4 separate regions of the Homo sapiens genome follow, and all the other regions are linked to region 1. The links are contacts of gene promoters, found by promoter capture Hi-C in blood cells and fetal thymus (Javierre and others, 2016). All regions are on one chromosome and are shown on one strand. Each heading gives the region's core, a stretch centred on a gene start or on the middle of the fragment in contact. The rest is flanking DNA. Distances are from core to core; before and after follow the strand shown. Region 1 holds the start of E2F3 (E2F transcription factor 3). Region 2 holds the start of RANBP9 (RAN binding protein 9). Region 3 has its middle 4.2 kb from the start of HIVEP1. Region 4 holds the start of JARID2 (jumonji and AT-rich interaction domain containing 2).

Evidence for each region. Contacts are between HindIII fragments. The CHiCAGO score rates a contact against its expected background, and 5 or more counts as called.
Region 2: a contact is called between the fragment with the promoter of RANBP9 here and the fragment with the promoter of E2F3 in region 1, in 1 of 17 cell types (total CD8 T cells). The highest score is 6.8, in total CD8 T cells.
Region 3: a contact is called between a fragment that was not itself captured here and the fragment with the promoter of E2F3 in region 1, in 1 of 17 cell types (non-activated CD4 T cells). The highest score is 5.1, in non-activated CD4 T cells.
Region 4: a contact is called between the fragment with the promoter of JARID2 here and the fragment with the promoter of E2F3 in region 1, in 1 of 17 cell types (naive CD8 T cells). The highest score is 6.8, in naive CD8 T cells.

The regions. Positions count from the first base shown.
Region 1 is chr6:20,400,450-20,403,149 of GRCh38, forward strand. E2F3 (E2F transcription factor 3) reads left to right here and starts at 1,430. Exons shown (of 7, transcript NM_001949.5): 1 at 1,430-2,176. The coding sequence starts at 1,784. LOC124901482 reads right to left here and starts at 2,323. Exons shown (of 3, transcript XM_047419652.1): 1 at 1,976-2,323; 2 at 1,820-1,931; 3 at 292-1,713. The coding sequence starts at 2,323. The coding sequence ends at 1,106. RefSeq lists silencers at 1,005-1,244, 2,095-2,564 and an enhancer at 1,343-1,867. The HindIII fragment of the contact is 2,252 bases long and covers 248-2,499 here.
Region 2 is chr6:13,710,582-13,713,281 of GRCh38, forward strand. It overlaps RANBP9 (RAN binding protein 9), which reads right to left and starts at 1,254. Exons shown (of 14, transcript NM_005493.3): 1 at 354-1,254. The coding sequence starts at 924. LOC124901264 (a long non-coding RNA gene) reads right to left here and starts at 2,173. Exons shown (of 2, transcript XR_007059462.1): 1 at 2,102-2,173; 2 at 1,771-1,960. RefSeq lists silencers at 199-318, 579-628, 709-828, 989-1,758. The HindIII fragment of the contact is 8,985 bases long and covers 1-2,700 here.
Region 3 is chr6:12,006,730-12,009,429 of GRCh38, forward strand. It overlaps a transcript of HIVEP1 not described here. Among named protein-coding and RNA genes, the nearest start is that of HIVEP1, 4.2 kb to the right of the region's middle. RefSeq lists a silencer at 2,441-2,560. The HindIII fragment of the contact is 199 bases long and covers 1,231-1,429 here.
Region 4 is chr6:15,244,656-15,247,355 of GRCh38, forward strand. JARID2 (jumonji and AT-rich interaction domain containing 2) reads left to right here and starts at 1,414. Exons shown (of 18, transcript NM_004973.4): 1 at 1,414-1,929. The coding sequence starts at 1,885. It overlaps JARID2-DT (JARID2 divergent transcript), which reads right to left and starts at 719. Exons shown (of 1, transcript NR_187237.1): 1 at 1-719. RefSeq lists enhancers at 1-42, 1,232-1,281, 1,392-1,491 and silencers at 42-351, 362-621. The HindIII fragment of the contact is 5,356 bases long and covers 1-2,700 here.

The DNA.
Region 1 (2,700 bases), core at 180-2,679:
AGGAGTCCTAGCCTGATCTGACACATCTTGTCAGGTGTTTCATAGCACTCTGAGTAAGAGTTTTGGGAAATTAATAATAGTAATAAAAATCTTGTGAAAGGGCTCAAGGTGTTGCAATCCTCATCACCTATGAGCACCAATTCTGCAGCTGTTTTGCACGTAACTATAAATTATGATCTAGTCTCTACATACATAACTTCCCCCACATTCCTGCAGGGGTCTCTTTTCCTGCTCAATCTCAGGAGCAAGCTTTAATTTTAAGACCCATGAATACTTGAACAAATTCAGGAGTCAGTTTGACACATCATTTTATATTTTTCTGATGACAATTTCTAGTTTACTTTTTAAAAAAAGACACTATTTTAAAAATACTTTGGGATAGGTTTGAGTCGTTGTGTTTGCTTCCAGTCAGAGAACTTCCTACAAAACTGAAGATATAAAGTGCTGATGCCTGGGCGTGCCTGCGTTCGTTGGGGGCACGACGTCATCGTGGGAAGCGTGTACTTTTTCGGATTACTGCTTGGCGGATTAGAAACCCGTAGATCAGTTCTAGGTTAGCCCTGATTAACTGCCCTGGGTGTTTCTGGGCCAGAGGGAATGTCTGCTGGATTCAAACCAATATCCGTTGTAAGACAAAAGAGTTAATTTGTACTTTACCCCTATCCAGGCTAATAATGAAGGTACCGGGAATGATCTGGAATGTTAACTGGTGCCCGCAATCGCGTCTGCTGAACCTTCTGCCCCCACGATTCTGTCTGCCCACATGCTTCTGTCTATCAGCCCCGGCCTCGGGATCAGCTCTCGCCGCGTCATTGGTTGGATTTCAGGAAGGGAGAAGCCCACGATTTAAAGGGCTCCTTTTGCACCTGCCAGACATCGTCCGCATGGTCCAACTTGCCTTTGGCACGTATCTGGAAAAATCTCCTGCGCTGTTCGTTTATTGCACTGACTGGTCAAAGGAAAGAGTGTTCCCTTAGTCACCTTGACAATTTCCAAAAGCGAAACTTGGGCTCTAGACTAGATCTACACTGAGTCTGCGGGGCGCGGAGTCCCTGCCCAGGTCAGTAGCGCCGGCCCGGCGGGCGGGCGGGGACAGGGGCGGAGCCTAGGCCAGGCGTGGTCTTCCGTGGGAGAGAAGGAAATTCTTTGCCCCACCCCCTAAAAACTGCTCTTCTGCCAGCCAATCAAGGAGGCCTATGCAAATAGGGTCCCTGTCGCCCCGGTAACCATGATGCACGGCAGCCAATGGAAACCAGCAAGTCGCGGCCCTGCTCCATGATTGGGACTGAAGTAAGGAGGTAGCGGCCCAATGGGCTGTGGGAACGGTCCTCGGCGGGTTGAGGGGCGGGGATATGCAAATATGGTTTGAAAAGCCGGCGGGAAATCCGAGTTTCGCGGGAGGACCTTGGCGCGTAAACCGTATCCCTTCATTCATTGTCAGCAGCAGCTTCCTGGAGCCATTTTTCAGCTGCCGGCCGCAGCACCCGGGCTGCCGCCGCCGCCTCGCAATCCGTTGCATCGGCCGCCCCCGACGCCTCCATCCCCGCTTGGGGCCCGATATCCGTGCGGCCGGGACCCTCCTCTCTCCAGAGCCCCGATTATTTTTGGCCCCCGGGGCCTGTGCGGTGCGGAAAAATAAAAAGAAAAGAGAGAGAGGGGGCTCGGAAGCGCCGGGCGGGGAGGAGAGAAGGAGGAGAGACTTGGAAACTCCGACTGCAAATAATAAAGAAATTGAAAACAATACATTAATATACCATAACACTAAAAAGAGCAGGAGCGAGAGATGAGAAAGGGAATCCAGCCCGCTCTGGAGCAGTACCTGGTGACCGCCGGGGGTGGGGAGGGGGCGGCTGTCGTCGCCGCCGCCGCTGCAGCCTCCATGGACAAAAGGGCACTGCTAGCCAGCCCCGGCTTCGCCGCCGCCGCCGCCGCTGCCGCCGCCCCGGGCGCGTACATCCAGATCCTCACCACGAACACTTCCACCACCTCCTGTTCCTCCTCCCTCCAAAGCGGCGCCGTAGCCGCCGGCCCCCTCCTCCCCAGTGCCCCCGGCGCGGAGCAGACCGCCGGCAGCCTCCTCTACACCACGCCGCACGGACCCTCCAGCAGAGCCGGGCTGCTGCAGCAGCCACCAGCGCTGGGACGCGGCGGCAGCGGCGGCGGCGGCGGCCCTCCGGTAATACCCTCCCTCCCCACCGTCCCCAGCCCCGGCGGGAGGTGGGCTCGCACCGCGCGGGGTCGTGGGCGCGCTGCGGGCCGCTCGGGGAGAGCACTGGGCCGAGCATCGTGGGCCTCGGGGGCTGCCCCTCCAACGAGGGTTCATTGTTAGACCTGAGTGCTCTTCCCGGCGCCAGGAGGGTCGGGGGGCTCGGCCAGGCGCGCGGGGCGGCGGGGATTGCCTTGGCGCGAACCACATCAAACACTCCAAAACTTTTCGCGGCCCCCCCTTCTTTTCCTGCACTTTTCCCTACCCCCACTCTCCCTTCCCCTCCAACTCGAAGCTTCCTCTTTCTCGGGCGTAGGAAGGGGTCACGCCCCGGATGGAGAAGGGGGTGGGGGAGGGAGTAGTGAACTGGGGTGTGGGGGGCTCTGAGGGGTTGAAACCGGGGGACTGTTGGGGTGCTAGCCCCCAGTCGGCCTTGGAGGCTCGTTGGCGGCCGGGGGTCCCTGCGGCGTGCTCGGAGCGCAGGGGATCGGCGG
Region 2 (2,700 bases), core at 4-2,503, 6.7 Mb before region 1:
CCATGGATTCCTCTACCCAAGCCCCAAGATTTATCTCCCAGGGAAATCAGAAAGCCAGTTCTGTCCTGTCATCCCGGATTCCCTCAAGGTGTCCTGCTCCTGGTCTAGGATTACCAGCTCCTTTCTACCCTGGGGCATTCTACTCACCTTCCTTTTCCAAGAATCTCGCCCCTCACCCTCGGACCCTTCACCGCGACCCCCGCGCCCACCCGGAGCAGCACAACAGGCGGCGAGTGGCCTCCGAGGGCAGAGCCCGCGAGGGCGGGGGTCGGGGGCGGGTCGAGAGCGGCGCAGCGGCGGCCGGCCACGTCGGGTCAGTGCCCCACTCCCACCGCAGGACACACGCCCAGTACCTTTGTAGTGCACCCGCAGGTTGTTCTGAGAGAGGCCGATGTAGCTGAACTTGTCCTTCGGGCTCCAGGACCGAGGCAGCGGCGTCTCTTGTTCGTCCACGGCCGGGTAGAGACGCTTCAGCCGCCGCTGCAACTCCTTCTCCTGCTCGTTCAGGGCCGAGTCCCCGTGAGGGAAGGGGGCCGCGGCGCTGCTGCCCGCCACCAGAGCTGGGGTCGGGGCTCCTCCAGCCGGGCCGGGGCCCGCTGCAAGGCCCGGGGGAGCGGGCGGCCCGCTGGCGGGGGCAGCCGCTGAGGCAGGGGGAGGCGGGGGCGGCGGCGGGGGCGGCGGGGCCGCGGTGGCCGGGGGCGGCGGCGGCGGAGGGTGGAGGAGCAGGGCGGCCGCCGCGGCCCCTAAGCCTTCGCCGCCCGCACCGCCGCCGGGCGAGCCGGCCGGAGAAGAGCCGGCGCTGACGGCCGGGGGCGCCGGCAGGACGACTCCGGAGACTGGGGCCAAGGCCGCCGGCGGTGGCGGCGACAGCTGCTGCTGCTGTTGCTGCTGCTGCGGCGGCGGCGGCGGCGGCTGCCCGGACATCCCGGCCGCGACTCAGCCTGCGGCCACCTCCACCTCTTCTCTCCTTCCTCCTCTGCTTCCCGGGGGCGCTGTCGCTGCGGCCGCCGGCACCAGGCGCCCAGTCCGCCCGCCCCGGAAGCAGGCGGCGGGCCGCGCGCCCAGGGAGACCGCGGCGGTTGAGGAGCTCGGAGACGCGGGAGTAGGCGGCGGGCCCGGGAGGCCGGGAGAGAACGTTGGCCGGAGCGCGGGCGCGCGGCCCGGGGACGAGGCGCCGAGGGCGGGGGCGACGCGGGAGCGCGGGAGGGGAAGGCGCGCTGGCGGCCGCCGCGGCCGCTGCTCTCGCGGCTGTTTCCCGGCGGGCGGGCCGGGCCGGCGCGAGACGCTGCGCGCGGGCGGCGCTAGGCGAGGGGGCGGGACGGAGGCGCGAGAGAGGCGCGAGCGGTGCGAGGGGGCGGGCCGCGGGGCTCCCGGCTGTGCGCCGCGAGGCGTCCTCCCGGGCCCGCCAGTCGCTCGTGGGCAGGATCGCTGGGCTCCCGGCGCCGCAGGTCCCTTCGGAGGTGTCCGCCTCCTCTCCCTTGGCGGCCGCCGTCGCCCCCCTCGCCGGCGAATCCCCTCCCACTTGACTTCTTTTTGTTGTCGTCGCCCCACCTCCCCACCGTAGGGCTCCTCGGAGCCGAGGCGCCGCTTCTCGTCCAGGCGAGAGTAATCGAGCCCCGCTGGGGCCGCCGCGAGCCCAGGCCCCGGGGCGCTCTAGGACCCGTCGGCCCGGGGCGTGCGGAGCGGCTCAGGCTCCCCGCGCAGTGCTGCTAGCTCTCGCCTCAGTCCCGTTCCCGTTTGCCGCCTCCCTCCAAAGAGGAACGCATTGCCTTTGGTACTTCAGTGTTTAATTCCGTAGCATTGACCATATGGGCAGTAGAAACCACTTCTGAAGGCAGTCTCCCACTTAGAATAGTGACTGTTTCATTAATTAATTTTACGAGGACTCACAGTGAACTTAACAGTGGTAGAAGATGTCATTAATAAAGACCGGCATATCTTCAAAAAGCAGGAGCAGGCACTGTATGAATACAAGATTATAGTGTGTGTTTAGGAAGGGCTTCTAGAGACGTCAGAACATTTTATAGACTCGTTAATTTTCATAACAGGGTTCTTAGGTAACAGAAAATTATGCCCATTTTTAAAACAAGGAAATATTTACCGAGATCAGCAGAGTCAAAAATAGGACTTCCTACTTTGCAATTCCCAATAGAATGCTTCGTCGACTAATTTGGCACAACTTGCCAAGTGTTGCTCTCTGACCCATCATAACATTACTACTTTGTTTTCACCACTTCCCTTTGTTTAGCTTATCCCTCCCTAGCTGGCAAAATCAGGCTTTGCATATGTAAATTGTGTGATGTAAATTCTGATATTTTGTTTGCTTCCAAAGATATGATGGTAATCATTTGGTCAAATAAGAAATGTTTTGCCGAAGAGAAAATTATTTCGTTTTGAAGAAGGTAGGCCAAAGGTGATTTAATTTAAGGCCAAGATTATCTGGCCAGAACAAATAACAGAGTCATTCGGCCTAATTTCTCCCTCAGTTACCCAGACAACTAGATGTTCTGTTGTACTTTTATTATTATTATTATTATTGTTTTGTCGCCCAGGCTGGAGTGCAGTTGTGTGGTCTCAGCTCACTACAACTTCCGCCTCCCGGGTTCAAGCGATTCTCCTGCCTCAGCCTCCCAAGTAGCTGGGACTACAGGCATGTGCTCACACCCAGCTAATTTTTGTACTTGTAGTGGAGACGGGGTT
Region 3 (2,700 bases), core at 80-2,579, 8.4 Mb before region 1:
AAATCTGGTTTTCACAAAATATAATCTTTAAACTTTGAGCATCTGAATATTTTCTGGATCCCCATCATAGTTCTATCATTTACCAGCTCTGTAGCTTCCGGAAGACTATGTAGCATTTCTAAGCCTCTGTTTCTTCATCTACAGTGTGGGTTTATGGCGGGGACTAAATGAGTTTATATAGGAAAACCCGGCAAGTCGTAAGCGCTCAATAGCTGTTAATCACTACCACTACCATTATTACAACTGCTAATGTTACTGCAGTTTTTGTAACCAGCCTCCATATCGATCCTAAATCCATCAGTAACAATAACTTTCCTTAAAAAGACCATTCTCAGGCCAGATGTCTCCAAATAGCTACCAACTGTTTGTAATATCATGTCTTAATTCCTTCCAAATGATGACTGAGTAGGCTCTTCTCTGGTTGCCTGTTGCCTGCCCATTCTGTCTTCCTAGCTCATTACGAGAGAACCCACCCTTCCCAATGGCCCCGGGGCAATCCAGGTGTACATCTCTCATCTGAGCATGATTTTTTTTTTGAGACGGAGTCTCGCTCTGTGGCCCAGGCTGGAGTGCAGTGGCGTGATCTTGGCTCACTGCAAGCTCCGCCTCCCTGGTTCACGCCATTCTCCTGCCTCAGCCCCCCGAATAGCTGGGAATACAGGCGCCCGTCACCACGCCCAATTAATTTTTCTATTTTTAGTAGAGACAGGGTTTCACTGTGTTAGCCAGGATGGTCTCGATCTCCTGACCTTGTGATCCGCCCCCCTCGGCCTCCCACAGTGCTGGGATTACAAGCGTGAGCCACTGCGCCCGGCCCTGAGTATAATTATTAATACCTTCCCTTTCACTCTCAAGTGTCCTGGCATGGGTGTTACTTGTTTCCCATTTGCTTAGACTTTCTGCTCTCGGTGGAAAAACCATCACACACAGTTCACTTGCTCTCACCTTCAAGTTATTTCCCTCCTCTAGAATGCTGTACTTCCACCACTGCCAAATCGTGAACTTTCTCTCCTTCAATATCCCACTGAGAACTCACCCCCAGGATGGGACTCTGCTCACCCCGTCCTCTACTCAAGCAGAAGCCTCTCAGCGATCATGTAAATAACTGTATAACTTTAATTGGCTCTGTTTATAAGCCTCTTATATCTTTTTTTCCCTCTAGGTATTTTTCCATGTGTTTATCCTGTCTCCATTAATTTGTAATCTTCCAGAGGGCAAGGCCTGAACACAAGCTTCTGTTGGTGTAAAGTGGAGGCACAGGTAAGGCTGATTGCTAGACACTGCCGTCCTTCTTTATTAGTAATCTGTTAAAAAAAAAAAAATTCTTTGTTGTAGTGTTTTGTTAGTGATGGTCCCGAGACTGCTAACCTAATGAAAAACTATATCCAGTGTCTGCTAGTGTCCAGACAAAAGAAAATCAACAGTTACAAGCTTTTCATAACGTGAGGGGAAAGTGTGCGGATATTTTGACCCATAAGGGAATTTATGGTGTATGGAAAGCATGTTATAGAATTTGTTGCCTTTAGATTTTTATTCTTGTCTTTTCAAGGCTGCAGGACTGTCTCAGAAGGGAAATAATATTTACCTTCCAAACTGAGATCTAAAACCCGAACAAAGCCTCAGGAAACATACTCCACCACCATCTTACAAGTTTGTGCTACGGGTGGAGGGAAAATGAATCTAATGTAGGAGGCCTCCCGCTGTGCGTCTAGCAGGAAAGACCATACGGTGCAAGTCTCCAGGATCACTAGAGGGGTGGATTGTTCATTTCAGTCCAGGTAGCAACAGGAAGCCCGTGCAAATGTTCCTCTCTCACTGCGGGGCTAAGGAGTGTGGGTCCTTTCCCGCGACTACCTGCTTGCCTCTCTCAGAACCTGCAAGTGAAGTGCGGAAGATCTGTCTATCTTCTCGGCGGCGCAGAGCCCAAGGTAGAAACCGATGGAGGCGGTGCACTAGATAACATCAAAGCCCCGGGCAGGGGCCAGAAAGGGGGGCACAGGCAGCCCGGGGAATGAAGCGCCTCCCTCTAGCATTTCCTCTCACGCCCACTTCCAACCTAGGAGGCTTTTGGTTTCTGCTTTTTTGTTTTTAAAATTAAAAGTTAAACCCAGGAAGCTTTGGATCAGACTTTTGTGTTGCAGTTCGGGTAAGTTTTTCTCTCGGTTCTTTTGTCTGGCGCCTGGCTTGGGAAGAGCCTGGGCGTGGGGCAGAGTTGGCAGGGCGTGCGGGGAAGGTTTTGTCGCCGGGTTGCCCAGAGGAGGAGGGGATTCGGCCGGTGGATGGGAAAGCCCAGCGCGCGCGGAGGGCGGAGGGCGGAGGGCCGAGGGGAGGGACGAGCGGCGTGACCCGGCGGCCGGCGGGGAGGAACCTCCGGGATCTCCGCGTGGCGGTGGCGGCGGCGGCGGCGGCGGCGGCGCTGCCGGGCCGCGCGCTGGGCGGAGGGCCGGGGCCGCGGGGCCGCGCCAGGGGGGTGCCTGAGCCGGGCCCGGCCGGGCGGCCGCGTGGGAACCCGAGCCGTGGACGCAGCGGCGGGGGCGGGCAGGGTGGCGCGGGGCCCAGTGGACGCGGCTCCGGGGTGGACTTTGTGCCCTCTCCAAACTGTTCGCCAAGAAAAACGTGTGTTGAGCTTTTCAGTGACACTATCCTCCCTCGAACCCCACTTTCCCCAAGGGGGGCTCCAGAAGCGTTCACGCGGACGGT
Region 4 (2,700 bases), core at 164-2,663, 5.2 Mb before region 1:
AAGCAAAGATCCCGTTCAGTCTCTTTAAACACGGCTATCTTTTCTCAGGAGGCAGCCGCCGGGGCTTCACTCCTGGGCCACCAGCGACGTCCTCCAAGCGGGTCGAGCGGAGGCGCGTTCGCGACCCAGGGGCAGCGTGCCGAGCCCGGGCGTGGGGGGGCGTGGCCTTTCCACTCGGCGACCCCCGGCCACCGCCCACCCCGCGCGTGGGGGCGTGCGCGACTGCGGGGCGCGGAGAGGGGTGACCTCGGACTACCCTAGGCGCCCGCAGCACGCTCTGTACACAGACGCGAGGCGCTGTCCTGAGGTGACACCGGCTGCACGGCACAAGCAGCAGGCGCCGCCGATCAACTAGTTCGCACCGAGGATTCCTCTTGGTGCGTGGCCCAGTTTTCCTTAGGACGGGCTCCAACCCCTCCCTGACACCGCCCCCCTCACCGCCACGCTCCGAGGCCTTCCCCGGGGAAGCCTCGCGTCCCTCCCCCGCGGCTCCGGGCCGCACGCGCGCGATTCCTCGATTCCACAGGCGGTTCGCGCCGCGGGTGGGGGCGGGGCGCGCGGGGAGGGGGCTGGCGGCCGCCAGGGGAGGGGGGCCGGGGCCCGGGGGGCGGAGGAGGGCCGGCGTGGGGAGTTCCTCGCTCGCGGACCACACGCTCCGCGGGCCAATCCCGAGCCAGCCTCTAGCAGTGTCGCACGCGGGACACGTCCAAGCGTTTGTTGGCACGGCCAGTGAGGGGGAGGGGGCGAGGAGGAGGGAGGGGAGTTGAGTGACAGGCTTTGCGGGGCAGGCTGGGAATTGTAGTTCCCAGCTTCCGTGGCCATAGCCATTTTGTAGTCGGGGGACTACAACTTCCAGAAGATCAAGGGGACCATTCTAAGGTGCCCCGGGAATAGGCGGCTCTCCCCGGGGCCGGGCGTCCTGGGGCACTCCTACCCAGCAGCCCGGCTGCAGGTAGACGCGAAGGCAGTGGCGGGGGCTGGCGTGGGGCGGCCGTGGGGTGAGCGGCAGGCAGGGGAAAGGGGGTGAGGTGGAGCGACGGAGCGTGCCATGCATTGAGCTAGGGAGCCTCTCTCAATTCCACGCCTGGGCTCGGCGTGGGAGCGACGCCCGAGGGCTTGCCTGGGAGGGGTTCGTCGAGGTCGCTCGGGTGTCTGGTTGGCCAGGCTGCGGGGGTGCCCTGGACTGGGCCAGGGGCGGTCGGCACCAGGCTAAGCGGGCGCCTGGCGGCTGAGCGGTGGGAGTTTTCGGCTGGCGCCCGGCGGGGAATTATCCGAGGAGCCCTAACTTGTATAAAAGCAGAGTCCATTTAAAGTTGGGCTGGATAGCCTCTCTCTCATTGGTTAGGGGGCTTGGAAAAAAGAGACTCGGCGAGCCCTCGCTGTGGTGCTGCCGCCGCCGCCGCCGCCGCCGCTGGAGTTGACTCTTCTGCTCGCACTGCTGCTGCAGCACAAACGTGACTTCCAACATTTTTTATTTATCTTTCCCTTTTCTTTTCCAAGATGTAACTACGGATCAGACACTAAGGACCTTCACGTTTCGCTGATGTAGTTTTTGGAGGAAAAAGGGGGGGGAGTGAAGGGCGTCGGTTTTTTTTTGTGTGTGTGTGTATGTGTTTCGGGGGAAATTTTCCATTATGAGTGTTTTACTAAAGTGAATTTTTTTTTGTTTGCTTCGTTCGTCTTTGGCTCTTTTTTTTTCCTTCCCAATTTCGGATTTATTTCAAGGCGAATCTGGCTTTGGGGGAAGAGGAAGAAAAGTCGGATTACAAGATCAACCACCACCAACAACAATAAAAACCACCAGGATATTTTTTTGCAAATTTCTGACGGCTTTAAATTCATGAAGCAATTGTCCCCTTTTGCAATCAGCATTTGGATCTCAGAATGAGCAAGGAAAGACCCAAGAGGAATATCATTCAGAAGAAATACGTAAGTGCTCCTAACAACACATCCTTTGACTTGCAGTTTTAAGCAATGGCTGTGAATGTCAAGTTTATAGATAATTCTGCCTCTGAAGGGTTTTAAACACAGCGTCCGATAAGGCTGTTTCTTTTTTTTCTGAAAGAGGGCTTTTCAAGCAAAGTGGTGTCTGCCTAGTTTGGTTGAAAAAACAGACTGGTGTAGAGATACCTCAAGTGAATAAATTGACCTCGAATGACACAACCATAATCTACTTTTAGATGAAAGGCAAGGGATTTTGGTGGAGCTTGAGGTGGGGGGTGGCTGCGGTAATGTAACTAAACTGCATTCTCAAGCGGATTTGGCCCCGTATTGCACTTTGCATGCAAATGAGCCTGTGTTATTATTATTAATGTTATTTGGAAAAATCGTGTAACGCATGTGTGTTGGAAGCCCTTTAAGTTGCGATCGAGGGTCCGATTATGGCGATCTTCTCTTTGCACTGGCACATCAAATTTAATGTCTGTGGTCGTTTTGGCTTATCTGGTTTGCAACATAAACCAGTTGGGAATCATGTTACAGCGAATGCATTTGTTGGGATTGACTTTAATAATGAGGCTGGTTTTGTTTAAAAAATTCATGGTTTCCAGTTGTAGGGGAAAAGGACACACACTATGGCTAATGTTTTTAAGTGTGTACGTGAATGCATATGTAAGTAACTACAAATAATTTCTCCCTGTTAACTGGGCTTCTGAAATTGGGTGATTATTCCTAGATTTAAATGGCTTGGAATAGTTAAAT